7 separate regions of the Homo sapiens genome follow, and regions 1, 2, 4, 5, 6 and 7 are each linked to region 3. The links are contacts of gene promoters, found by promoter capture Hi-C in blood cells and fetal thymus (Javierre and others, 2016). All regions are on one chromosome and are shown on one strand. The core of a region is centred on a gene start or on the middle of the fragment in contact, and the rest is flanking DNA. Distances in the headings are between cores, read along the strand shown.

What was found. Contacts are between HindIII fragments. The CHiCAGO score rates a contact against its expected background, and 5 or more counts as called.
Region 1: a fragment that was not itself captured here is called in contact with the fragment with the promoter of KCNJ6 in region 3 in 1 of 17 cell types (endothelial precursors); the score reaches 7.9 in endothelial precursors.
Region 2: a contact is called between a fragment that was not itself captured here and the fragment with the promoter of KCNJ6 in region 3, in 1 of 17 cell types (M1 macrophages). The highest score is 5.0, in M1 macrophages.
Region 4: a contact is called between a fragment that was not itself captured here and the fragment with the promoter of KCNJ6 in region 3, in 1 of 17 cell types (endothelial precursors). The highest score is 6.9, in endothelial precursors.
Region 5: a fragment that was not itself captured here is called in contact with the fragment with the promoter of KCNJ6 in region 3 in 1 of 17 cell types (neutrophils); the score reaches 5.2 in neutrophils.
Region 6: a fragment that was not itself captured here is called in contact with the fragment with the promoter of KCNJ6 in region 3 in 1 of 17 cell types (endothelial precursors); the score reaches 5.0 in endothelial precursors.
Region 7: a contact is called between a fragment that was not itself captured here and the fragment with the promoter of KCNJ6 in region 3, in 4 of 17 cell types (M1 macrophages, M0 macrophages, M2 macrophages and 1 more). The highest score is 7.7, in M1 macrophages.

What each region holds. Positions count from the first base shown.
Region 1 is chr21:37,690,541-37,694,286 of GRCh38, reverse strand. The region is part of intron 3 of KCNJ6 (potassium inwardly rectifying channel subfamily J member 6); the gene reads left to right. All of the region lies in intron 1 of KCNJ6-AS1 (KCNJ6 antisense RNA 1), which reads right to left. Among named protein-coding and RNA genes, the nearest start is that of KCNJ6-AS1, 170 kb to the right of the region's middle. The HindIII fragment of the contact is 1,782 bases long and covers 1,395-3,176 here.
Region 2 is chr21:37,670,069-37,674,078 of GRCh38, reverse strand. The region is part of intron 3 of KCNJ6 (potassium inwardly rectifying channel subfamily J member 6); the gene reads left to right. All of the region lies in intron 1 of KCNJ6-AS1 (KCNJ6 antisense RNA 1), which reads right to left. Among named protein-coding and RNA genes, the nearest start is that of KCNJ6-AS1, 150 kb to the right of the region's middle. The HindIII fragment of the contact is 972 bases long and covers 1,813-2,784 here.
Region 3 is chr21:37,915,000-37,918,961 of GRCh38, reverse strand. KCNJ6 (potassium inwardly rectifying channel subfamily J member 6) reads left to right here and starts at 2,505. Exons shown (of 4, transcript NM_002240.5): 1 at 2,505-3,078. The HindIII fragment of the contact is 6,207 bases long and covers 1-3,813 here.
Region 4 is chr21:38,129,837-38,133,542 of GRCh38, reverse strand. All of the region lies in intron 2 of DSCR8 (Down syndrome critical region 8), which reads right to left. Among named protein-coding and RNA genes, the nearest start is that of DSCR8, 10 kb to the right of the region's middle. The HindIII fragment of the contact is 1,888 bases long and covers 1,174-3,061 here.
Region 5 is chr21:37,777,952-37,782,101 of GRCh38, reverse strand. The region is part of intron 2 of KCNJ6 (potassium inwardly rectifying channel subfamily J member 6); the gene reads left to right. Among named protein-coding and RNA genes, the nearest start is that of KCNJ6, 140 kb to the left of the region's middle. The HindIII fragment of the contact is 1,888 bases long and covers 905-2,792 here.
Region 6 is chr21:38,086,717-38,090,853 of GRCh38, reverse strand. All of the region lies in intron 2 of DSCR4 (Down syndrome critical region 4), which reads left to right. Among named protein-coding and RNA genes, the nearest start is that of DSCR4, 33 kb to the left of the region's middle. The HindIII fragment of the contact is 1,506 bases long and covers 882-2,387 here.
Region 7 is chr21:37,729,998-37,733,896 of GRCh38, reverse strand. The region is part of intron 2 of KCNJ6 (potassium inwardly rectifying channel subfamily J member 6); the gene reads left to right. It overlaps KCNJ6-AS1 (KCNJ6 antisense RNA 1), which reads right to left. Exons shown (of 8, transcript NR_183540.1): 7 at 3,073-3,899. Among named protein-coding and RNA genes, the nearest start is that of KCNJ6, 180 kb to the left of the region's middle. The HindIII fragment of the contact is 2,590 bases long and covers 251-2,840 here.

The sequences.
Region 1 (3,746 bases), core at 1,036-3,535, 220 kb after region 3:
GGGAGGCTGTCCTGGTGAGAAGCACTAAGATAAACACACAGCCGGCCATCCATGGGTCCAATCGTCACCTCCACAGCAGCAGAAAGTGCCTTCAGGAAAACTCAGGGCCCACAGGTATCTGAGGCTGCAGTGTGGGGAACACCACCTCTGTCCCAGGAGGGGCCTTTCTCCCTCCAGAACCTTCTCAGCACTTTCTTACTTCCCACGCCCCTCTGGCAGGAAGGCACCATTTGCCCGGTGGCTGGCACAACACAAAACTGTTAGACAAAAAGGCTAGGGGATTAAATGTCAATGTTTAGATAATCAATGTAAAGAAGTTTTATTATATTTGTTCCAATGTTTGTTTTTTTTAAAAAAAAAATGGTAAATAATTGAATGAAGATAGTGGGCACATGGAAGAAATGAAAAGCGTGAAAAGTATTTCTGCAGGAATGAGTTCAGGTTGAGGGAAGAAAGTGGGTACCGCTGGAGGGAGGGCATGAGGAAGCCAGACTACCAAAAGGTAACAGTTCTATGAAAAACTTCTTTATAATGATTATCAAAGTGTTACCATTTAATCTATTAGACCATTTGTCTGTGGGCCTGGGGAGCTCTGTTCTAGCTCATCCAATAGTGTTTCTGCTTTTATCCCAAAATCACGTATCAATTTTTTAAATTTTCACTATGTTGTATCCCCCCACCCCTCCCACCTCTCTTCCTGCCCACTCTCGTCTGAGAGGATCTAGGTTCTCAGGGGCGAGCACCTGCCTGCTAGAGAGGCCCAAGGGGCGTACGGTGGCCCCTGCTTCTCTCCCGGCTTGTCCCAGATCCACACAGCCCACCTTGAGGGTTTGATTTCCTGGTTCTCCTCCAGGATTCTGTCTTATGGACTCATCCGCCGTGGTTCATTCCTGCATACTCCTTCATTCTGCAACTCAGCCAATCCCTGGGCCCCTCCTTGTGACAGAGAAATTTAAGACTCCCATCCTCCAAATGGTGATGTGAATCAAGAGATGGCAGAACTTACAGTCTTGCTTATGTGGGCATTGAACGAGACATTGCTTGGATGTTGCCTAAAACATCAGTTCTACCTTCAAGTGGCAAGAAAACATAGCACTTGGTACCATCTATCTCGAAAAATTAAGACATTTAAACAGGTCATCTGATGGATTTCCAAGTTGGATTCATGTTTTTAATTTCCTGCTGTCAAAATAGAGGGATGTTTCCCTCTACCCATTAACCATTTTTAATAAAAGCTTGAAAACATGATGGAACATACACAGGGTGCGGCAGTCACTAGTGACACTTTGTAGAAGCTCACTTACAGAATGAGTTTCTTTGTGGCTCTTGTCAACCCAAATAAAGATTTGCGTCAAAAACTGTCCCTTCTTGGTATCTATGTTAAGAGTAAAGCTTAGCATATCTAATGCTACCCTTTCGCTCTAAGTTTAATGAAATAACCATTTAGGTGAGGGGAGTGGCCTTAGAAATTTGGGCTAAATCAATGGTTCCTTGGCAGATCGCTGAGTAATTTGTGGTTATCAATGGAAACATTTTGTTTGTTAGAGAATGTCACATTGTCAATATTCTATGTCTCTTTGAAAGTGAATTTGAAGGGTTCTGCCATTTTCCTGATTCACTCCAAAGCCAGAACCTAAACTCTATTTCAGAGAGCAGGAAGGCCCCAACCATTGGGCCCCAACATCCTGGCAGAAGAGAATGTTGTCTCTCAGGCCAGCACATGTCTAATCAAGACACGGTTCCTATTGGCCCCCCACATTCCCGTCAGTTTCCAAATTGTTGCACTAAAATGGGGCTTGGGATAGAGGCAACATCCTTACAGCAGATCAGTGTGGGAGCTGGGACTGGCACTGCTGAGGAGAATATATTGATTCTTCTGTCTACTTTAAATCCACACACTTTAAGTACCATTCACACCCCTAATGCTGCTCCTTGGAAATTATTCTGAAGGAAAAAAAAAATGCATTGCCTTTTTTTCTCAAGGGTAAAGGGAGAGGCAGTTGAAACACAAATATTAAATGGGAATTTGTCTGCCACTCTACGTTTTTTGTTTTTTGGGATTTTTTGGTTTTTGTTTTTACTTTAAGTTCTGGGATACTTGTGCAGAACATGCAGCTTTGTTACATAGGTATACATGTGCCATGGTGGTTTGTTGCGCCCATCAACCTGTCATCTAGGTTTTAAGCCCCGCATGCATTAAGTATTTGTCCTAATGCAATCCATGGAAATGGACACACATATCAAATTCCACTGCCTCAAACCCCAAATGACTAAGTGCTGGAATGCCACGACATCCCAAACTGCTTGAAATAAATGGGCCATCAGCTGAGGTTAGAGAAACCTTTTTTTTAATTATACAGCAAAACGTCTCAAAAAATATGTTTGATCCAGAGTGGTGGATCATAGCAAAAGCACATTGAATGAATATGTTCATGTCCCTGTCACTATTTAACTTAGCGGGGCCTGCCTGCAGGGTCTAAGGAGTTCTAACGGCTGTGCTTTCCTGTGAGCACAGGTGCGCGGTTACTCACACAGATTCCACCCCTGCCGAGTGGCCTCCAACCATGTCTCACTATATCCCACTGTCATATCCAAAATCAGATTTTGGATTTGCCAAAAACTGAGCAAAGCTAGAACAGAGACCGTAATCACTGAGCAGTGGCTGAAGATGTTCCTGGAAACCATTCTAGCCAGAAGCCAAACTGTGAATCAGGAAGATACGGGACACCTCAGAGGAACTCCTTAGAAGTCGGTCTCAGCTGATGCTCCCATTCAATAGGTGTCAATAGTTCCCACCTTCCAACAAGAGCTGCCAGAGCTCTGAGCAGGCTGTGCCAAGCAGGCTGGGAGGGTGTCAAAATGCCCAGCACTTCACCCTCATTGAAGATAAATCATCAGAAAGTTAAGATTTGGGAGCATCACAGCCCCCAATAAGGGAGGGGAGGGAGATGTCTCTCACTTCCAGTCTAGTAAATGAAGACCCTGTGGGAATCCTTAGAGGTCCTGACAGAGGCCCCCCTACACCTGAGCCTAGGGGTGCCAGGAAATTGTTGTCCTAGCCATACCTGGCCATCTGCCCTTGCAGTGGCTTCAGGGGTTGGAAACCCTGCACTCTCAGCCCCACACAATTCAATTATCTGTCTCTGTCCTTATTCCTCAAAGGTGTGACCTAAGCTTGCTTAGCTTGGAATTGAAAAAGTAACCTGGGCCAGGTACGGTGGCTCATGCCTGTAATCCCAGCACTTTAGGAGGCTGAGGCAGGTGGATCACGAGGTTGGGAGTTCAAGACCAGCCTGGCCAAGATGGTGAAACCTTGGTCTCTTCTAAAAATACCAAACTTAGCCGGGTATGGTGGCAGATGCCTGCAATCCCAGCTACTCAGGAGACTGAGGAAGAGAATTGCTTGATCCCGGTAGGAAGCAGAGGTTGCAGTGAGCCAAGATCACGCCACTGCACTCCAGCCTGGGCAACAGAGCAAGACTCTATCTCAAAAAAAAAAAAAAAAGAAAAGAAAAAAGAAGTAACCTGAAGTATCACCCATTAATATGTTACTTTGATGTACGAATATTTATGTCCAATTTCTGTTTGGAAAAGGAGGGGCTTTGTGGAATTTTTAAAATTCACATTTGTGCCCTGGCTGTGGCCATAGATATTCACTGAGCCAGGTGTCATGGTTGGTAGCTGTGGCACCATGCCGAAATTTCAAGAAAATACTCTTAGGCCTTTGGAAAATTGAAAAATCCTGA
Region 2 (4,010 bases), core at 1,049-3,548, 240 kb after region 3:
CCCTGGCCCCACACTCCAGAATAGCCTGTTTACACTGGCTAGAGGGCAGTTAGACTTCACATGGTTGGGATATGCTGTCATCACTAAGGGAAATCACAGGGCTCAAAGTCACAGCATGGAAGCAAACAGGTAAACCCTGAGGGAACAGCATCAGCTCTCCCTGCTCTTTGGCCATCTTCTCTCCCAAGGCTCCTCCAGGTGTCTCCGATGTGCAGCCAGGATGAGCCCCAATGAGAGCCCCTTCCCCTTCTTTCCTCCACTGGTTTGCCTGATCAACTCCTACTCATCCTTCAAAGCCCAGCACATCTTTTGTAAAGACTTCCCTGCTTCAGTCCTGCCTAGAGAATCCCTCCCTTCCCTGTCCCCCTCTAACTCTGAACACACCTCTAAAATTAAACATACCCATCTGTCTGCTGGTTATGCATGTCAGTGCCTGTGTCCTCATTTCTGTCTCATCCCTGTGTCCCTGTGTTGTGTCCTATCCACAACAGGTGTGTGATGAGTGAGTTGGACACAACACAGACACAAGTGAGCCCAGCCACTGGGCCAGGAAAAGTGCTGCTCTGAGATGCACCCTCATTTCTGAAGCTGAGAGACAAATCCTATCCCTGAGAAAAGGAAGCCTGGAGCCCCAGGAAGGAGGATGGATGAGCTCCAAGGAGCCGGCTCCTGGAAAGAAACAGGACTGGAAGAGGGGGAGGGGACAGGGGCAGCCCAGCCAAAGGAAGCTGCAGGACAGTCCAGCTGGAGATGGAAGCCTCCCAGTAATGGGACCACCCAGGAAAGCTGATGGACAACCACCCACTTCCCTAGCTCCAGCAGGCTGCCCCTGGGCCTATCGGCCATAGCCCTAGAGATGGTTCAGGTCCCAACCCTCTTCCTCCAGCCTCTGCTCCATTTCCACCACTCCTCTTTCCCTCATGCTGTCTTACCTGTCCCCGTCTCCTCTCAATTCTTCTTCTCCTCCTTTGTTTTCTCTCTCTCATTTTGCATTCAATAATGAATATTATTGCTCATTAAAAACGTTTTGAGAATAATGTAAAAAGGAGACTTTTATAGCATTTACCACACTTAAAAGAAAAATCTGGCCTGGACAATGTAGCAAGACTCTGTCTCTACAAAAAATAAAATAATTAACAGGGCACAGCAGCATGCACCTGTAGTCCCAGCTACTTGGGAGGCTGAGACAGGAGGACCACTTTAGCCCAGGAGTTCGAGGCTGCAGTAAGCTGTGATGGTACCACTGCACTCCCACCTTAGCCACATAGCCAGATCCTATCTCAAGAAAACAGAGAGAGAGAGAAGAAAGAAAGAGAAAGGAAGGGAAGGGAAGGGGAAGGGAGAAAAAGAGAAAGAGAGAAAAACCTACCATCTCCTTACATGTGTATTACATCTTTATTTCCTTTTTGATTAGGTAAAAAGTCCAAGTGAAACAACCATAGCTGATAAGTTTATACTAAGCTAAGGATATACCATGTATCTTGAACTTTAACATTTTCAAGTAAAAAGAGATGTCAGAGAACCCAAACTGACTTATGAAAAAAGAAAAAAAAATTGAGGATGTCTTAGCTCATACAACCAAAAACCCAGGGGGAGAGGACTTCCGATGCTGCCGGTTCCTAGGCGCTGAGATGACCCCCAGACCCAGCTCCTTTTCTCCAGGTCTCCTGCTTTCCCTTCCTTCTGCATCACCGTCATCCTTAGACTACTTCTTTCATGGTAGCAGAAGTGTCCACCACATTTCAGGCCCCAACTTCTCACAAGCAGAAGAGTCAGGATCTCTTCCAGAAGCTTCCACAGAAAAGAGAAGCTTCCTTCCTAGAAGCTAAAGCTATATTTCTTTGCATCTCATTGTCCTTAAGGAGGTCATATGCCATTTCCGACCCAATCACTGGGGACAAGCAGATGAGCTCTATGGACTTGCTTAAGCCAAGCAGGGATCACCCTTAAGAGATGGGGTCAATCCCTCCTAGACTACAGGTAGAGAATGGGTCAAGACACAATTCCCTCCAGAGCAATTAAGTAAAAAAAAGAAACAGAAAGTATTCCAATTGGAAAGAAGTAAAACTAGTTCTATTCAAAGATAACATGATCTTATACAGAGAAAACCCCAAAGAATCCACAAAAATACTACGAGAGCCAATAAACAAATTCAGAAAAGTTGTAGAGTACAAGATCAACACAAAAAAAAATGTTGAATTTCTATACATAAGGACCTAGGAAGAAACAAACTCCGCATCTCGTACTATACTCTTACAACAGATAACACTTCCATGACTCCAGAGGGCTGTTGGGGTTTCTCCAACAACAACCAGTGCTGCAGGTCATTCTCCAGTGGACACCCCTGTGTGTTCCCTAATTCAGTTCAGCTCTGACACTGTCTACCTGCAGGCAGTGTCAGATCCCACAGGGTGAGGGCTCAGCCCCACAAGCCTGCCCCACCCCGGCAGATGCCAGTCGCAAGCACAGGTTGTGGCCTGTGCTTCTGACCAACTGGCTGTAAATTGGGAGTTCCCGCAACCCCATCCTGGGATTCAATTAATTTGCGAAAGCAGTTCACAGAACTCAGGGAACCACTCTACTTACACCTACCCATTTATTATAAAGGATATAATTAAGGGTACAGATGAGCAGCCAGAAGGAAGAAGGGTACAGGGCAAAGTGTGGGAGAAGAGGCAAGAAGAGGGGCACGCCCTCCCTGGGTTAACCCCTTCCAGGAACATCCATGTGTTCAGCTTTCCAGAAGCCCCCAGAACTCAGTCCTTTTGCTTTTCTATGGAAGCTTCATTATGTAGGCATGAGTAATGATATCATTGGCCATTGGTGATCAACTGAACCTTCAACCCCCTTCCCTTCCCTGGAGGTTGGGGGTGGGACCGAAAGTCTCAACCTTCTAATCATGCCATGGTCTTTCAGGTGGCCAGCCCCCACCCGGAAGCTATCTAGAGGTCTGCAGCTGCCAGTCATCTCAGTAGCAAACAAAAGACATTCTTAACACTCCAGAGATTCTAGTGGTTTTAGGAGCTATGTATCAGGAAATGGGATAAAGGCCAAATATATATTTCACAATATCACAATACACTAGCAATGGACAATTCAAAAAGGAAATTAAGAAAACAGGCCCATTGACAATAGCATCCAAAAAATGAAATAAAATACCTAAGTTCAAACCAAGGAAGTGAAAACTCATATACTGAAAATCATAAGGTCCTGCTGAAAGAAATGAAAGAATATCTAAATAAATGGAATAACATCCTGTGCTTATAGGTTGGAGGGCTTAATATTATTTTTGCTTTGTTTTGTTTTGTCTTTTTGAGACAGGGTCTTATTCTGTCACCCAGGCTGGAGTGCAGTGGCACGATCTTGGGTGACTGCAGCCTCTGCCTCCCAGGCTCAAGTAATTCTCCCACCTCAGCCCTCCAAGTAGCTGGGACTACAAGCATGCACCACCATGCCCAGCTAACTTTTGTATTTTTAGGAGAGACATGGTTTCACCACGTTGCCCCGGCTGGTTTCAAACTCCTGAGCTCAAGTTATCTGCACACCTCAGCCTCCCAAAGTGCTGAGATTACAGGTGTGAGCCACTGCACTCAGCCCAGGCTTAATATTATTAAGATGGCAGTACTACCCAAAGTGATCTGCAGATTTAATGTTATCCCTGCCAAAATTCCAATGGCCATTTTGCAGAACTAAAAAGCCCAATCCTCAAGTTCATATGGAAATGCAAGGGTCCCCAAATGGCCAAAACAATGCTGAAAAAGAACAAAATTAGAAGATTCACACTTCCTCATTTCAAAACTTACTATAAAACTATAGTAATTAAAGCAGTGACTGAATATAAGGCATAAGGATGGACATCTAAACCAGTGGAATAGAATTTAGAGTCCAGAAATAAACCTGCACACCTTAGAATAATTGACTTTCATGAGGACACTAAGATCATTTAATGGGAAAGAATCCTCTTTTCAACAAATGGTGCTGGGACAACTAGATATATACATGCAAAAGAA
Region 3 (3,962 bases), core at 1,256-3,755:
AAACTGAAAAAGAACTAGGTCTCTTAATAGTTAGACCCACAACAGCTAAGGTCTTAAATCTAAAACAAGTACTGGCCCAAGGGTGGAGACCAAAAACTCCCAACCATCTTAGTTCTGGTGTCAGCCTGTCTAAGGCAAGGCCAGATCTACACATGGGCCAAGAAGATAGAATGGTTTATAAATTGCCGCAATCAATGACAGAGAAAAACAAGATTACCCAAAACAAATGACAGCCCGTCAAGATAATTCAGTTTGTTAATTTTACTAGCTAATAAGTCTCCATTACAGCTTTATATGTGGGAGACAAACCAGTCTCATCTGTATGACATAATCAATCAATTATAAAAGTCACTGTGAGATTTGGAGCACTGATTTACCCTGAAAGATCTTCTCCCCCAGGCCTTGCCTTCACCTGAAATCATAAAATAGATATATAAGTGAGATTTCAGACAAGCTAAACACAATGTAGTTTGAGAGACCAGGCTCTCAGGAGCTCAGAGGAGCCACAATTTGCAGCTCTGAAGCACAGCTCGCCTGATTTTCAGATGTGGCTGCAGTCTCTTAGTTACACCCATGCAGATCACTTTATCAGAACTCTACGGAATAAATGAATGAATTCAGTTAAGCCAATTGCTCTTGTCTCTGGTGTTTATCAAATCCCAGGCTGTGTTAATGGGATCCATCTCATTCAACACGTGCTCTTATGCCATTCACAAAGTGCTATTGCCCACATCACCCCGGCAGCTGTTTCAAGTAGGGGAGTTTTCAAAGTATTTGAAGGAGACAAATAGGTTACTTCCAACTCTTGACTTTCTTATTTAGTCTAATATCTTGTAAGAAAGATACTTTGTGAAATCATTCTACTGGTAAAAGTATATATCATCAAAATTAGCAGGCATACCCATAGCAGCTTCACAGATTAAACAGAATGCCCTTTACACAACTATAGTCAACATGGGTTGTTCTTTTAATGTTCTAAGGCTGTGTCCACCGAAATCCTGCATCTTGCATTTGTATTCCTGGTCTCTCAGGGATTATTTGGTTCAGTTGTTCTTTGTTTATTTGTAACACTATCACTAGATCCAGCAGGCATTGTGGAGCACGTATTACACATACTACAGATATTACACATACTCATATCTTCTGTATATGGGATATATGACTCAGAAGTAATAGCAAGTCAGATTACAACCTCTTAGGGAAAATCAACAGCAAATACAAGCTCACAGGCCGTGTGTACGGTTGACTTTTACATGACTTTGGATGCAAATTGACACAAACACCTCTCCATATTACAGTCATTTTTAGAGGGCAGACAGCATTCTTGAGGGGACCTGAATTGCTAGGTAATTAAAATGTATGTATGTAGAATAAAATAATCTTGGAAATAAGAGGTTTCCGTAAGCCTTCTCTCTAAAATAAGGTCACCTTCTTTGAGGTAGAGATTCTGTGCCTTGTGGAAGGAAAGCCACTTCATAAAGCAGCACAAGAATAGCCAGTTATTGAAAGGGCCATTATAAAATTACTAGCCAATGGTATTCGCTACTCTTACAATTTGTCAATCCATTCATCCCTAGGAAAAAGACAGCATAAAAGAGAGTTCTGTTCATAGGTAGAAGCAATTTATGGGAAGACTTTGGAAATGTAGAACCATTGTTTTTGATGACCATAAGAAAAAGAGGGGGTGCAAGAGGGGAGCACTATGAGGGGCCCCTGGAATAACAGCACAAAGCAAGTTAGATTCAAAGAGTGGAGTAGACCTTTGTCTAAGGGGCTTATCCTGACAAATTCAACTTTGAAGGCAGCCTGGGTCATTCTTGGAAAAGGCCATTCTTTGTCTCCAGTGACCCCAGAGACATCATATAAGGATGGGGTGATGATGCAGCAGCCGGGACCAGGTCCCAGTTGCAGTGGACAGGACAGAAGGGACTGAATGGGGCAGCAGGCTGGGGCGCCACCAGGTGCAAGCAAAGCTCAGGGATAGGGCCCCTCCCCTCCGTCCCGGCCGCTCGCTGCGCCCCCTCTGGGCGGTGCAGGCTCCGGCTCCCGCGCCGGGGCTGCCTCTCACGGATTTCAGCCCGGTGGGAGGCAGTGCCCAGAGCCTCTTTTTCCTTATCTCACAAAACCCTAAAAGCCGAACCCCTACAACCAGCAGACAAAACTGCTCCCCGAGCTTCGGCTCTTTCCTGCTTTCCAGGCGTTTCTCCGGGAATAACTTACTTAGTGGCACTGGGAGAAAGGTTGGGACTGGGGGGTCGGGGACCGAAACCCAAAAGATTCCCCCAGCATGGAGCACCCACGTTTCCAGTGGCGGGGGATGCACGTTGGTTTGTGCCCAGCCCGCCCCCACCAAGCCCGGTCCTCGACGCGCTGACACGCTAGCTGGCATGGGCGGCGGGGTGGGCGTCTCTGGGTCTGTGGCTCTGTCCTGCTCGCCCCCGCCCCTTCCTCCCGGACCGCGCCGGCGCTGTGCGGCTTTTTCCCCAGCACGCGGCGCTGCACTCGCTTTTATCTCGGAGCCGCGTCGCTTCGTGCGCTGCCAGCGGGGCTCAGCCAGTCGGCTGGAATTGAGTAGCATTCATTGAATCTGCGGATTTCATGACGTCTCTCTGCGTGGTCCACCACTTTTCTCCTAACCGGGGATTTTTTTTTTCTTCTGCCACTCTTATCTTTCCCCACTTCATTCCACCCAGTCTCCCTCCCCCGTCCCTGCCCAAACGCGCGCCCCTCCGCCCCTCCCTTGGCCCCAGCGCCCAGCCCTGCTCTCCGCGCTCGGCCAGAGGGAGCCAGTCCGGAGACGGCCGCACCTGGCTGGAGAGGCTGGGCGGGCGGAGGGGTGGAGACCCGCGGACGCCGGGAAGCCGGACCTGGAGCCGGAGCAGCCGCGAGCAGAATGGAGTCTCCTAACAGCCTCTCGGTGCTGATGTGAAATTTGACCATCTGATTCCAGTTTTTTTCTTTTCCTTTTCTTTTTTGCATTTCCTTCCCTCGCCATCCGTCGTGTAGTGAATTGTTCAGTCTTGCTCCGTTTCAAGAGAGGAGATCATGATTGAGTGAAGCCACCCCGTCCGCAGCCAGGTAAGCGGTGCGCTGAGCTGCTCGCAGGCGAGGAGCTGGCGTCCACCTGGGCGAGGCGTTCCGTGCTCTCGGGTCCCCGCGTCCCCTTCCCCAGCTCCGCCGTCGCCGCAGGCATCTCCACTCTCATGAGAAACATTGTGCCCAAGTCAGCCGAAAGGCGAGGGAGAAGCCGGTTACATAACAGAAGGGGAATCTGTTTCATACGGTTTTCATTAGCGACTGAAACTCGCACGGGGGGCGGGGGAAGGAGGGGTCTGCATCCCTGGGCTCGCAGAAACCCAGTCAGTTATTGCAGACATCATTTCAACATCCGCTGGCAAAGACTTAAATGCACTGATTAACTGACAGGTGCGGCTTGTGATGTAGTCATTTACAGTTGGGAAAAGCCTATTGTCTTTGTGGAAGGCAGTCTTCTTGTTCTGCTTTGCATGGAGAGGAGAGGAGACAACACGAAAGGGAGGAAAAGTGAGGGTTGGGGAGAAACATGCGGAGAATGGGAAACAGAATACTGTAACTCCTAACTGTTCTCTATCCTTAAAACCGAAGATGTGCTAGCATGACTAAAAACAGTGAATAGGAAGATCTTCCTAGGAGTAAACTGAATTATTTTGTAATTGGAAGGGAAGAAAAAACACTTTAGATAAAATGAGATGTGTGTGGCATTTAGAGGACTGGGTGGCTGTGGATATTTGCTTCCCTGTGGATATATTTTCATTTTCATCAAAACATTAAGCTTGGATTAGTTTTTAAGTGAAATAACATCAGTATTCCCAAAACCCAATAAAAGCCCAGTGGATCCACAGGTACATCTGTTGTACTAGGTGCAATATGGAGAGATTGTCAGGGGGAAAATATATCTTAATAGAAACAGCCACAGAGGGTGA
Region 4 (3,706 bases), core at 868-3,367, 210 kb before region 3:
ACTGGGCTCTGAAATGAGGCAGAGCAGGTAAAATGATTGGAAATGAGCTCAAGTGTATCCACCCCCCAGGGATACTTTCTGGCCTTTAATGAACATAATGTTTGGCAAGTTGACAAATGCACTGGACCTCCCTGAGTTCCCAGTGTGATCATGTTCACGGGAAATGAAGGGACACATCCCCCCGCCCCAGCTCTTTCCACTCTTCTTTTTCTATGCTGTAATTAAAGCTTTCCAATATCAGGGACTTAAACACTTGAAAGATTTTCTTAAGGGAACGCAAGAAATGTGAAGCATCTCAATTTTAATTAAAAGGAAGGACCTTATGACAAAAGTGAATAAAGTATGGTGCTGATAATTATCAATTTAAAAGCACAAAAATGGTAATTTCTAGTTAGGAAATAAGTACCGGTTCACCCTCTTATTTAATCCATCACATTTTAATTTCCTTCTTCTTTCTATAATTGAGGAATAGCTGCCAGATTTGGGAACAGAGAACTGTATCCTTCTGCTGTGAAAGAAGGGGGCTCTTTTCTTAATAGTCACCTAAGCAATTAAAGCCTTGGAACTGGGCTCCCTTTGATAGGTTTTTCTGCTTGCCACTTCCTCACCCTGCCAAAAATAAGGAGGTTCATTAACCTCACACTGTTAGGAAACGGGGCTCATCACCGAGAAGTTCGGAATGTGGTTTCTTCTGTGTGCTGCAGATGAAGGATTGCTTTTCCTAAGGTGTTCTCTAGTCAGGAGCCAACAGAATCCGAAGTCATCTGACTTCTTCCTTCTTTTAATCATCCCCTGTGGCTCAGTTTCCCCACCCCATATGAAAGATCTTTAATGAAGCAGCATAGAGCATCTCCAAATAATAATGCTCAATGCATAGCAGTAAAATAAGTGCAACATTTGGGTTTATTTTAGAGTGGTGTGGTATTAGAGGTGTTAGGGCTTCTTTCCAGAGCAGGGGGTGGGAGTAGAAAGGGAAGCAGTTGGGACATTTGTTCATGTCTTTCCGGTTTATTATGCTTAAGCAGAGTAGAATTGTCCTAAAATATCATGTTAAGTAACCAACCACTAGGGCTCCCAGATGCCATAACATTTGACAGCCGTGATTTTTAACACTTGCAGTCCCTTCTTAGCTGTTGAATTAATTAATGATACCTTATTAAAGCCAATCAAGCTTTGAAGATGTTTAGAATGAAAACTTAACTTTTTTCCCTCCTTCTTTTTTTCCCCCCACTTCCAGGGGGTAGTATCACTCAGAGTAAAATCTGGCCATCGTTTAAGCATTCTTAGGCAAACATTAGTCTCTCGAAAATGTCAGATGGGTATACTAAGAGAGGGCATTTCAGACTATGAAGCATGAAATGTCAAATAACCTACCACAGAGTACTAAAGTGACAAATCACACGTAGGCTGCACACAATTTCTCTATTCTGCACTGATAAGAATGAGAGATTCTTTTGAGATATACCTTTAGGTCACGACACCATGCTGTTGTGGACAAAATGGGGCTCAGAGATTAACTATGGATTATTGTAAGAAGGAAATAAAATTTCTTTCTTTTTTTTTTTTTGAGCAGGGTTTCTCCATTTCAGTACTCCTGACATTTTGGACTGGATTATTCTTTGTAGATGGGAACCGTCCTGTGTGTTTTAGGCTGTCTAGCAGCAGCTCTGGCCTTTACCTACTAGAATCCTGTACTAGGGGACCCTCCCTATTGTGATAATCAAAATGCCCCCAGACACTGCCAGATGTGCCCTGGAGGGGTGGGGAAAAGAGACTAAAATCTGTGGATTAGGACCACTGCCCTAGAATAATGTGGCCTCAAGTGGAACGTATGAGAAAACAAAGATCAGAGATCCCCTTTAAATTCTAAATACAGTATGCAGTTAAAGTTGAAAACATGCTATTTAAATCCCCAAGTATTCCTTTTTTGTCACTTTAAATGTATTTGCAAATAAATGAGAACATCTATAACTATGATAAAAGTCATTCTGAAATAGCAACATTTACAGCATTTGCTTCTGAAACAAAGACAATGTTTGAATTTCCTTTGCAAATGCACAATAGGCATGTTCACATTTACTTCTTAGAATAAGAAGAAATTAGCCTCAGTAAAATGAGCATAAAATAAAATTATTCCCTCATAAAAATAAATAAATGATCTCATGTTGCCTGTTTTCTATATAATTATACCTAGAGTTGTACATGATTGCCAATTAATTGATCCCTCTTTAAGCACAAAATCTCCATTGCTCCACTCCCTTGAAATTTCCTTGGCTGTTATATTTTATGGATACTACCAGACATTGCTACCTACAAACAAGATTGATTCTTTTCTCTCCATGTCTAGATGGTTCTCTCTGAAGTGTATAGTCGGTTGTTGCTATTTTAATGCTGTTCAGTAAAGAGAAATGCTACACCAACCAAAGGAATATTCTTGCTTCTTAAGCCAGCACAAACCACCAGCATTTGGGTGTACATGATTATGCTTTAAATTTCTTAAAATTTCTCTGCTTGTGTAAAAAAATTCAGTTGCCCATACATCTAATCTGCAGAGCCTGGGGTTTACAAACTTATAAACTTGCACTGGGGAAGCCATCCACAAGTTTATACTTAGGCGAGGGGTGTTACTTCAATAAGGAACGGTACTACAGAGCTTCAAATATCCTTCCCCCCATGTTTCCATTCCAGCCCTACTTCAACACACACACACGCACATGCACACTCACACAGAACCTTATTTCACCCATTTTCCCAAAAAGGCACTGTAAACAAGAATAAGAACACTTATTTCCGTCACCATTCAGAATATCATACCCCAGCCCCCTATGGACCACAGCTCCTAAGTGAATGTGATGTCGCCAAAAGCCTTTCTGGGCACATGTGGCTTGATCTGTCGGATTGAGATCTGGCATCTCCCGACATGTAGTTCAGACGGAACATCAGAGAGACTCCTGAGACACACAGACACACTGCCAGCATCACACCTGGCCTTTGTTTCCTGCAAGGAACACCAAGGTCATGCCTACAGTCCAACCATCTGATGAATCTGACAAGGTAAGCTTGCTGGGGCCCCAGGTGCCTGGAAATTGGGCCAGAGGAGTCCCACATTCCCTCTTCCCGGCATGTGTCCCTAAGCTAAAGGAGCAGTGCCCCAGTCCAACAGAGCTGAAGGAAACTGACATTCGCTGGTTCAAACCCCTACTGTCAAAGAAGAGGAGACAGAGACCAGGAAGTTTAAGAAAAGCATTCGATATCCTACACTTAACAACTCCAGAACAGATGACTGTATTGAGAACCAAGACATCTGACTTCATTTTGCCTCATTTTTTGTGTGTGCAAGGAACTGTTCTGAGACCCACTAGGTATACAAAGATGTATAAATTATGGACTCTGCCCAAGGAGCTTACAACAGTGTGAAAAAAATAACTCAGAACAAAAGATGCAAAGAGACCAAGCCCATAATTGAAGAAACAACACAGCAGGTGTTCAATTGTGCAAATTAAATTATATGCATGTCAGTTAGTCTTGTTCAGTGGGACTGATTCATGTCTCTTCAGGCTAAGGTGCTCAGGAACATTTATATAGAGACAATTAAATTTAAACTGGACTTTGAAGGATGAGCAGCTTTTGACCAGGTGCAGAGGGAAAGAGAAGGAAATCCAGATAGGTAAATAGCAAGTCAGGGCCAAGAGAAACAAATAACCCA
Region 5 (4,150 bases), core at 599-3,098, 140 kb after region 3:
CTGACACTAACTCTCCTGCCATGCTCTTGTAAGGAGCTTTGTGATTACACTGGGCCCACTTGGGTAATCCCGGATAATCTCCCCTTCTCAAGGTTATTGACAGAATCACATCTGCAACGTCCCTTTTGCCATGTAAAGTAACATGTTCACAGGCTCTGAGGATTGGGATGTGGACGTCTTTGGGAGGACATTATTCACCCTACCTACCTATATGTAGGTAGGTAGGTAGGTATTTCCAGGTGATAGCTATTTGTTCTCTGCCTCTGGGGCTGTGACAATACCGGGCTTTGAACTGTTAGCTATGACCAGGGAATGATCAGAGGTTACATAGTTGAGGGAAAGGCCACAGAATCTTGACCTAAAATACTATGCAATCTTATCCAAGTTACTTACTCTTTCTAGTATCGGTTTTCTCATCTGTAGAATGGGATAATGATAGACACTACCTCCATTATAATGATTAAATACATTTATGTTTATAAAGTGCCTAGACCAGCGCCTGCCTCATGGTATACTTTAGAGGCATGTTGCTATCATCATGTTCCTCATCATCATAATTTTCATAATTGTTGTCATCATTAGTGCCTTGTATGCTGCAAGCCTCTCTGAAGTATGAGTTATCTCTTTGTCATTAGTGATAAATCCTGTTTCTAAGACAAGAAGAGTCACTTCCTAGGATTCCTGTGTCAAGAATGCAAAATGCATCCCTTCTTTCTAAATCTAACACTGCCAGGCTCTGAGAACACTTCTCTGTCACTGCGCCCTTACCCCAGCCTCTGCCAAAGTTCGGATTATGCTGGCACACGAAAATATTTGTCACACAATCGAGGCAGCTCATATGCTCTGCAAAGGAGAAGGATCACACTTGACATCCCTTGGGGAACATTCACCATGTCAAGAAGCTTCCGTCATGACTCACATTATCGAAAGCTCCTTTTGACTGATGCCGGATGGGTGGTGGTGTGGAGATGGGAATTCTGCTGTTCTAGCCTGACTGATGGAAGCAGCCGGCGTGTGCTGTGCAATAGACTCGACATAGGAAGGAGCCAGGCCTCAGCCAGTCCCAACTTGTCTTTTCCATTCCCCTAACGTGATATTTGGAGCCAAGACCCTTTGTTGGAACATGAGGCAAATAGGCCATGTTTGTTATTTCTTTCTCTTTCTCCTTTTCTCTCATTCTGCCTTTCTATCTAATTAATAAACTTTATATTTTTATTTTAATTTTTAATGTTTGTGGGTATACAGTAGCTATATATATGTATAGGGTACATGAGATGTTTTGATACAGGCATGCAATGCATAATAATCGCATCATGCAAAATAGGGTATCCATCCCCTCAAGCATTTATCCTTTGTGTTACAAACTATCCAATTATGTAGTCTTTTAGTTATTTTAAAATGTACAATTAAATAAAACCTAGTATTTCATGCTAAACTTTATTTTTAAGAAGAGTTTTAGGTTTATGGAAACATTGAGTAGAAAGTACAGAGCATTCCCCTATTACCTGCACTCCCCCACCCCCACCACATACACACACACAGTCTCCCATTACTAACATCTTGCATTCGTGTGGAACATTTGATATGATTGTAACAATACTGATGAACCAGTATTGATATATTATTATCAGCTAGAGTCCACAGTTTACATTAGGGTTCACTCTATGTTGTACATTTTGTGGGTTTGGACAACTACATGATGTTTAAGTAGCCACCATTACATTATCATACAAAAGGGTTTCACTGCCCTAAAATTCCTCTGGGTTCCACCTGTTCATCACTTCCTCTATCTCCCTAGACCTCTTGCAACCGCTGATCTTTTTACTACCTCCATAGTTTTGCCTTTTGCAGAATGTCATATAGTTGGAATCACACAGTATGTAGCTTTTCCAGACTGGCTAGCTTCTTTCACTTAGCAATGTGCATTTAAGCCTCCTCCAGGTCTTTCTGTGGCTTAAAAACTATGTCTTTTTATTGCTGAATAATATTCACATTATTTCCTTATCTTATATTTTCAAGGTAATAATTCTTATCCACGCTTTCTCTCCCAACCTCAAATAGGCAGAATGACCTCAGACCAACAAAGGAAAAGTTGGCAGTCAAGGACACCACCTACTGCCTCACCACCCCACCCACTTCTGTGCAATGAGATGATACAGAAAGTCTCCACATCTTGGTTTAAGATATTAATCCTGTCCACCTAAATTACACTCAGTTAAATGGAATCACATCCAGAGACATACACTGTTGCATTCTTATTTCAAGGGTAGAAGATTTTCAGTACATACAACCTCACTTGTGACTCCAAAAAGTTCATCTCAGTGCCACACGAGCATACAAGCAAACCTTCAAGGTTACAGTCATCTCAGAATCACTAGCACATGTGCTTTTAGAGAGACATTAGCCTCGTCTCAAGGAACTCATTCCTGCTTCAAACAGAGGCTCCTGGGACCAGCCAATTTTTGAACTCCCTCAGGTTCCCCAAGTGGCTTTTCTTCAGTCATACTCCCTATCTGACAGCCTCTGTAACTCTCTCACCAAATGAGCACTAAATTTCTAAAGCAGAGAAAATTTGCTTCCTAGAAGTGCAATGGGGTCTATGGATGGATGCAATCAGACAGGTTAGGGGTAATAATTGGACTTTTGACAAGTTCATGGTCCCCCCAAGGGCTGATTAACACACCTCTCCCCATCTCATTGCTATACCTTGAAATAAATGAACCAACAGGTAGCACCATGTTGACCTGGGAAGGTTAGAAGAGTATGAACTACAGAGCTGCCCTCACAAAGCTTGGAATCCAGTGGGAGAGATGAGTTTCATTATTTGTGAAATGGGCCAGTAATACCACAGGAGGTCCTGTGCACACCTCACAGGACTCTTCTAGTTACAAGGATTAAATGAAGCAGGGTTGGGACTGGCCTGCAAAATTTACAAGGCCACCACAACTCAGGGATCAAGACAAGTACTATTTTAATGCAATGGTTTTAAAAGTTAACCCAAATGCAAAATTTTTATGATGAATAAAATATCTAAATTTTAAATAATGACAGGATCTCATCCAGCTCTTGCATGGCCCTGAGATGAAGCAATAGATGTGCACTTGGTCTGAAAACTGCAAAGAGCTGTACAAATGCCCGTTCACGTGCATTCCGAGCATGTGATTATGGCAGATCATAAGGGCAGTAACAATTCAGAGAAAAAAAGGGCTGCGTGTGGATGGCCCCAGGTGCTCATGAGCTTGACAAATGGGTCAGGTTTACAGAGGCAGAAGGAAGGAGGGGGTGCTCCAAGAATAAGTGGGGGGTACACATGCTGGGGAGGGAGGGTACAGGAGATGGGAACATGTTGTCTTGATTCAAACAGAAGATGAGTGTTAAAACACACACACACACACACACACACACGCACACAGCACACGGATACACACAATGTAGTGGGAAGGGGCCAGAGTCCAGGGACCTGAAAGTCCCACCCAAGACTGAGATGGATGCCACATCCAGAGTAGTTTCCCAAGTACAGAATTATCTGATGTCAATTCAAAAGTAAGAACTCATGAACAGAGGCAGTCCTGCTGCTGCTGAAATATGTAAGTTATCTTCCATTGCAAAAAATAATACAAGTTCATTCTATAAAATTGGAAAAATACAAAAAAAAGTATAAGAGAAACGCCTCCAGAACTGTGATATCTTGTCTTTCCATGTTCTCTAGGAAGCTACAGTTGTCTATTAAGAGGTGGTTATGTTTGGAGAGCTAGTTTTACAATCTTAGAAACAGAGGAGACTCAAAAGTCAGGTTATGGAAACACTGACTTTCAGAAAGCAAAGTAGCAACGGGTTGGGGAAGAGATCCTTCCTTTGAGGATCTTTTACATGGTAAGAACTGACTGAGGACAGAATCATACCCTAGTCAGCATCATGTGTCAGTAGATGCCCCTAGATAGCTTCTGCTCAAATAAAAAACTCTGCTATAGATCAAACACAGTTCTTTTTCTAGCATGGAAAAAAAGCAGAATGCCTGAACGCTTCAGGTCATGTTTTTCTCTCTCCTTGTCAAACATCTGCTCCCAGCTTGATGGGTTGAGAACATCAGGAACACTTTCCTCTTCTAGAACAGGCAACACTCCCAGGTCTCTGACCTACAGAAAGAAGG
Region 6 (4,137 bases), core at 385-2,884, 170 kb before region 3:
AAAGTTTGCCAACTTTCCTTGAATCTTAATTTAAAATACATAATGCCAACTTCACATACGCACATCACTTAACAGTTAACAAAATCATTTTATCCTCATAATCTTTTTCCAAGCTACACAAAAAAAATCCTATGAGTATTACCATCCTCATTGTAGGGGTAATTGAAGTGTGGCTGACAACTGGACAGTCTTGGGAGCACCTGTTTGACTAACTTTAAGGCCCATAAAGAGGCTTCTTTCTGGGGATGAGGCTCTGACCCATAGAGCTAGACCCCATGGGTTATGTGTACCACAAGATGTGATGTTCAATTTTATGGGTCAACTTGCCTAGTCCACATTACCCAGAAATTTGATCAAACACCAGGCTGCATGTTGCTGTGAAGATGTTTTTTTAATGGACTCTAAGTAAAACAGGTTACCCTTGCTATAGTTTGGATATTTATCCCCTCTAAACCTCATGTCGAAATTTGATTACTAGTCTTTAAGGTGGGGCCTAATGGGAGGTGTTTGGGCTGGGGAGGGTTGGATCCTTCATGAATAGATTGATGCCGTCCTTGAAGAGGACCAATCTAAGCCTTGTCTTTTTCCCTCTTATAATTTTAAATTTGGAAAGGATAAATTAAGGCCAAGAACTGTGGGTTCAGAGTTAAAGAACCAGCAGAAAGTCTACAAACTTCTATGACTAAGGTTCCTGGGAATGTACTGGTCGTCCTTTCCCCAAATCTGACATGTTTGAAGTTTCCTTCAAACTAGAAGATTCAAACTAGAATCTTCCAGTATCTTTGCTCTCAAAATTAAAAGCACATAGTCTCTCTTTTTTTTTCTTTTGTTATTTAAAGTTAGCCAGAATTGCTTTTTATTCTTTGCAACCAAGATAAGCTTTGCTTTTACGGCACATATACGGAATACCTCCATGTTTTGTTTGGTGTTATAGTCTCCCTCTGGTTGGTGCGCCCCTTAGATAAAGAGGTCGTTTTTCTTCCCAGTCTCCTTATCTTCAGCACCTGGCAGTCCCTGACACATAGAAGGTCTTCCGTATATGTTTGCTAAGCCAAAGCATTCGTTTTTTATTGCTGCCTTAACAAATTGCCACAAATTTAGCATCTTAAAACAGTGTCTATCTATTATCTCACAGTTTTGTAGGTTAGAAGTCCACACATAGTGGGGTTCAGCTTGTTCTCTGCTCTGGGTCTCATAGGCCAAAATCAAGGTATTAGTGGGGCTGTGTTCCTTCCTGGAGGTTTGGGGAATAAATCTGCTTCCAAAGTCGTTCCGGGTGCATTCCCTTGCTTGCTTCCTTGCGGGCATCGTTCTCGGCTTCTAAAGCCCACCCACATTCCTCGGTGGTCCCTTCCTCCATCTTCATCTTCAAAACTAGCAATGGCAGACAAAGTTCTCATGTTTCCAGTCCCACCAGCCCTTCTGCTGCATCTCTCTGGCTTCCTCTTCTGCTTTTAAGAGCTAATGTGATTACATTGGACCTACTCAGTAACCCAAGATAATTGCCATATTTTCAGGTCAGGTGATTAGCCTCCTTAATTTGGGTTGCAAAGTCCCTTCACAGCATTACCTGGATTAGCGCTTGATTATATAACCAGGGGACGACATCTTAGAAAGACAGCTTTAGAATTCTGTCCACCATAGTGAAAGAATGAGGTCAGTTCCAGATACGTCCAAGCCAGGCAGGAACGGGGCGCAGCAGCGGCACCCTGGCTTCCTCTCTTCCAGAGCCCTTTGCTTCCAGTTAACCTTATCTGTGTGGCTCCCAGGGAGGAGATTAGCTTCCAGCAGTACTCTGGCCCTGGTCTTTGGCTTTTAAAGAACATGGAGGTCTTTACTGCCAACAATAAATGCATTCTACCAATATTTTTTTTCAGCAAACGATATATTAAAAATATAATACATCATGTCCAAGTGGAGTTTATTCCAAAAACTACCAGACTGATTTAACATTCAAAAAGCAGCCAGTGTAATTAACATATTAACAGACTAAAAAGGAAAAAAAAATGTATATATTCAATAGATAACAGAAAAAGCATTTGACAAAAGTCAAGATCTATTCGTGAAAAAAAAAACTTGTGATCACCTAGGAACCTGCCTTTAACCAATAAAGGATATTGAAATAATTAATTATAATTATACCTATTAGTGAAAGACTTTCCATCTTTTCCCCTAAGATCTTCAACAAGTCAAGGAGGTTCTCTCACTCCTGGTATCCAGCATTGTTCTGGGTTCCTAGTCTGTGCAATATGGCAGAAAAAAAAAAAAAAGCATACAGACTAGAAAAGAAGAAATAAAACTGTCTCTAGTTATAGATATTATTCTCTACAGATATTATTCTCTACATACAAAAATCTAAAAAAGAAACTAGGGAATAAAAGAAAGCTTCTAGATTTGGTAAGCAAGTTGATCCAAGTCACAGGACACAAGGTCAACATACAAATATTAATTTATATACACTAGAAACGAACCACTGGAAACCAATTTTTTTAAAATAAATTTACAGTGGCTCCTAAAGTGAAATACTTAGGTATAAATCTTTTTTTTTGTTTAGTGTGTAGAATCTGCATGCTGACAACTATAAAAATTCTGATAAATCAAACAAGATCTAACTAAATGGAAAGATATGCCATGGTCAAAATTAGAATACTTAATATTGTTAAGATGTCAGTTCTCCTTAATTTGATCTATAGGTTCAATGCAATCCCAATCAAAATCCAAGAAAGCTTTTTTGGTAGCTACTGAAAAACTCATTCTAAATATATATGGAAAAGCACAGTATCTAGAATAACCAAAACAATTTTGAAAAAGAAGAAAAATGTTGGAAGACTCATAGCACCAAATTTCAAGACTTATGATGACTCTACAATAATTAAGATAATATAATATTTTTAAAAGGCCAGACATACATATCAATGAAACAGAAATGAGAACCCAGAAATAGATCCACGTAAGAATAGCCAATTAATTTTGGACAAAGGTACAAAATTAATTCAATGTAGAGAGAATAGTATTTTCAACAAATGGTGCTGGAATTATGAAAAAATTTCATATTCATGTGAATATTTCATTTATATTTTTAAAAAGAATATTAAACTATGCTTCATATTTTATACAAAAAAAGTAACTCAAAGTTGATAATAGACTTATTTAAATTGTAGAACTATAAAACTTATAGAAGAGAACATGGAAGCAAATTGTAATGACCTTTGGTTAGACAAAAAGTATTTAAATATAATACCAAAGCACAATTTATAAAAGAAAAAATAATGGCCAGGCACAGTGGCTCATGCCTGTAATCCCAGCACTTTGGGAGGCTGAGGCAGGCAGACCACTTAAGGTCAGGAGTTCAAGACCGGACTGGCCAACATGGTGAAACCCCGTGTCTACTAAAAGTACAAAAATTAGCTGGGCATGGTGGTGGGTGCCTGTAATCCCAGCTACTCAGGAGACTAAGGTAGGAGAATTGCTTGAACCCAGGAGGTAGAGATTGTAGTGAGCCAAGATCATACCATTGCACTCCAGCCTGGGTGACAGAGTGAGACTCTATCTCAAGGAAAAGAAAAAGAAAAAAAAGGAAAGAAAAGGAAGAAAGAAAGAGTTGGACTTTATAAAAGTTAAAAATGTTTTCTCTGAAAAGGACACGCTTAAAAAATTAGAAAGACAATCCACAAACTGGGAGAAGATATTTGCAAATCACATTTCTAACAAAGGACATGTGTCCAGAATACAATAAAGAACTCTCAAAACTCAAAAATAAGAAAATGAACAACCCAATATTTTTTAAATAGGCAAGTAATCTAAACAGGCATGTAAATAAAGATGGTGCATAAGCATATGAAAAATGATTAACATCATCAGTCATTTGGGAAATGTAAATAACACCACAAGGTAATACCACTGCCTGCCTATTAGAATGGCTAAGCCCCATAAATCTTGATAATACTATATGCCAGCAAGGAGGCAGAGCAAATGGAACTCTCATATGTTGCTATTCGCTCAAAGCAAAAATGGCCAACCACATTGATAAACAGTTGAGCATTTTCTTATAGTGTTCAACTTGCACCTACCATATGACTCAGCAATCCCAATCCTAGTTATTTACCCAAGAAAAGGAAAATATATGTTCACATAAAG
Region 7 (3,899 bases), core at 296-2,795, 180 kb after region 3:
AGGCTGAGAGAAGAACTACACCTACATGTCTGACCCATGGAGGAAAAGAATCATTTTCTTCTCTGAAACCTGGGGAAATGCAACACTCACAAAACACAGTCGTGTATGTGACCATACAGGGAGACATTGCGCTCCCATCAACCGAAACCTGCCTTATGAAACCTTTTAACTAAAATTATTTCATTTGCTTTCTAGAAAAAGGACATGCAATTTATTCAATGCATCAGACCATTCAAAGACACATCAAGCTTTCTTTTAAAAGAAATTTCTTATTTTATCCTAAAAAACCCTAAAAAAGTGAATATTTTTCAGGGTAGAAGTTGGTAGCATAAGCTGTTGACCAACAGTCCCTAGAAGAAAGATGCTGAGATGCGGAGATGTTTGGCCACTGGCCAAAGAACAGGTACCAAGTGATTATCTGAGGACCTGAGTCTTTGAAACCCCAAATCTAGTTAGTGCATGTCTCCTCCACAAAACCCAGGCAAAGGAAATGCCCATCTCCGAGAGCTCAAATAAAACATGGCAATGATTACAGAGAGCAGACTCCTCTTCAAAAGACCCCCGAAATACCAACGGCAGATTTCTCCAGAACAACACAGATGCAATGAAGTGCAAAACATAGGCCTTTTGCATTCCACTCAAGTATCGCCAGGAATTTAAGCCACGTTTAAGTAAAAGTAATTCTATTTTATTGATGCAGGAATTAGTATAATCACTGAAATACATCCAGAGGGTGCAGCCTTTATAGGAAAAGAGGAAGTCAGCATTAATTTGTTCAAAATGCTAACACTTAACTGCAAGCACAAAGTTAAACAACAGGACGTCTATAGAGTGTGCATTAAAGGTGAAGTCAAGAGGGAAAATGATGCAGAGAAATAACAGTTTTCTTGTAGAATTAAACATACCTTGTTAGAGCAGGGAAAATACCCTTGAATGCTTGCTTGCCAGCCCCCCCTTTTCTTGCTGGTACCAGGTGGAGCTACCCAACAGGTGTTGAGTTGTGGGGATCAGTTTGTTCTTAACCCTCAACTATGTGGTCACTGCTCTGGGTGAATTACCTGGGACCCTTTTTTCTCCTTCAAAACCCAGTTTCTGTCATCCCCAGGAGAGGGACAGCAGAGAAAATGAAATTCAATTTTCCACTTGCTAGAATTCTTAAGAGAAGCGGGTTTGTGGGAAGTGGGTTGGAACATCTGTCTAAAATTGGAACTCCGGCTAATGTGAGGGTTTGGATTGACTATTCTTTCCTCTGTCGTGAGAACCCATGACGTGGTGGAATCAAAGCAAATCCAAATCGGTCTTGCCCCAGAAAATTGACGAGGAAACGTCCTGCCCATCAGTCATGCAGAGACTAGTTCTTCCGAAATAGCTTCCCCGTTCCTCACTCTAAAGCTCACCAGACCTTTTTAGAAGATTTGGCTTTCCACAATTCTGGAATCTAAGAGAGGGCGACTTGTGTCTTAACTGGAGTGGGAAAACCAAGCAATCACTTTCTCGCTTCTCTCTGCCCCTCTTCAAGACTGAAAAGTCTGATCTAATTTATGGACACTCCAGGATAGGTGACCACAATCCATTGGAAAGACTGGAACAACTGTCACATTCTGAGCAGGGGTGACCAGTCTGGCCAGCCCCACACACCCTGCTGTGCCTGGCATTGTGTCTCTCAGACAGGGAGGGGCCCATCTTCTCTCTGAGGGCAACGCTTTGACCTTCATTCTGTTTCTTCCCAATCCCTGGGAGATCTTGTTCTTGCTTTCCCTCTAGAATGTCCCACTGCTTCATTTCTACTGGTTGCTTCCCCTCCCTCGTTTGGAAAACTAGGTGTCATGCTTGTTTTCCCCAGCCACGCTGCCATCTCCCTTCCTCATCTAAGATGAGTGTGTCTTGCAGCTTCAGCCATCATCACCCTCTGTCCCTGCAGTCGAACTTCCATCCTGACCACCCTATTCAGAGTCTCTGGGAGTTTCCTTCCTTGCTAGGAAGGGCCTCTCCCTTGCTGAATGCACCACCTTGGCCTCCTCATCCTGGACTCTTCTTATCAGCAGAGCCCCCTCATTTCCACTAACTCCTCCGCCTTCTCACTGCCTGCACCCTCTGCTCCTCCTGAGCACTATCTGTGGATGCTTCCTGAAGTATCTGGTGGTCTCGATTCTTGATTGTTGCTCTATACTCTCATCCTCTGAGACAGCCCATCTGTCTGCTCAGCACCCTTGGGTGTTTCATGCTTCTGTGCTGTTTGGTTAATAAAAAGTACCCTAGACTTAGAGCAATCACCCAAGACCAAACCCAATTGCAGCTGTGTAACCTTGGGCAAGGTAGCCAGCCTCTCTCAGATCAATGATGCTGCCTACCACACAGATTTATTAAGGGGAGGGAATAAAGCTGAAAACAGATGTGAAGCTACAAAGCTCAATGCCGGCACATAGTAGGTGTTCAATAAATGTTCATCCTATTCCCTAGCTGCGAGTTCCCCTTCCCAACTTATGATTTTGTAAGACACCAGGATCTTCCCACTTACCAGATCTTAATCTGCCATCAAATCTTAGAAAGTCTTTTTTTCTCTATTAGCCTTATCCCTTCTCCTCCATCCCCAGCATCCTCTCTCTAGTGTTGACCCATATCCCAAACACAAGCCCCTTAAATCTTTCACTCCATTATTTCCACTTCTTCTGCTCCACTGGGGTAATTTACTCTATTAACACAGGAGTGAGGCAAGATTCTTCTTGTTGCCACTTTTTCTCACCTTGTACACACATGCAGGCACACAAACACACACACACACACACACACACACACTTCTCTCATCTATCTGCAATGGCAGAAAGGAAAGAAGACAAGCTTCAGAATGGGACCAACTTGATGGAGGGTTCAATCTCCTATCCCCACCGAATATTAGACATGTAAGCTTCAGCAAGTGACTGAACCTTATGCACCTCCACTGCCTCATCTGTAAGACGGGTCAATACTCCCCCTGTGGGCTGTTGTGCCCTGCCCAGTACTTGGCACATAATAGATATTCAGTAAGGGTTGGCTTTTTCCCTTTCACACATCAGAGCCACAATAATTTCCCACCTCCTTTGTGATGCCTTTGCCAATTAGTCCAGCCACCGTTGGCCTCTGTCTCTGATGCACTAGAACATTCTTGGCCTCTTGTCCACAGTGTAGAATGCAACTGCACATTGATATGGGGCACTATGCAGGTTTTGTGTTACCAAGCAGGCTCTTAGCTTCCAGATGGGTCTGCCCATCTGTTTCTTAGATTATTTCTGGATTTCCCACAGTTTCCAGGACAATGTTGAGCTTATAAAAATAGTGATTATTGTAGTTACAAATTGTGTACCTTCTTCGACCCAGACACTATCATAATTGCTGTCATTTGTTCAATGGCTGCTGTGGACCAGGTGCCATCCTTGCAGGATTTTTTTCTTTCTCACAGTAACTCTTCAAGGTAGGTCTTATTATTTTCATTATGCAGTTGAGGAAACAGACTCTGAGGCAGAAGTGGCCTGAACAAATACTTGCAGATTGGAGTTGGGAGAACTGGATTCCAACCCAGGCCCACCAGGCACTATAGCCAAGCACCTTGTCACCAGGCTCCCAAAGTTCATTATGTCATTTCATTCTCCCAGCAACCCAGCAAGGTGGACATTTCACCCTATTTTGCATATGAAGACTTAAGGCTGCGGGTCCCTTGGCTGGTGGGCAGCAGAGCTGGGATTCCCCAGGACTGGCTGTCTCCAAGCTCCACACTGGAAGAATCAGGAGCAATAGATTTCTTCTTGCTCTCAGAAGGAAACCACCAACTCCACAGTCCCTGGGCAAGACAATAGCCTGAAGCAGCCACTGCTTCAGGGAAACACAGAAGGAGGAACGGACAGCCTAGGATCCCAAGGTCTGGG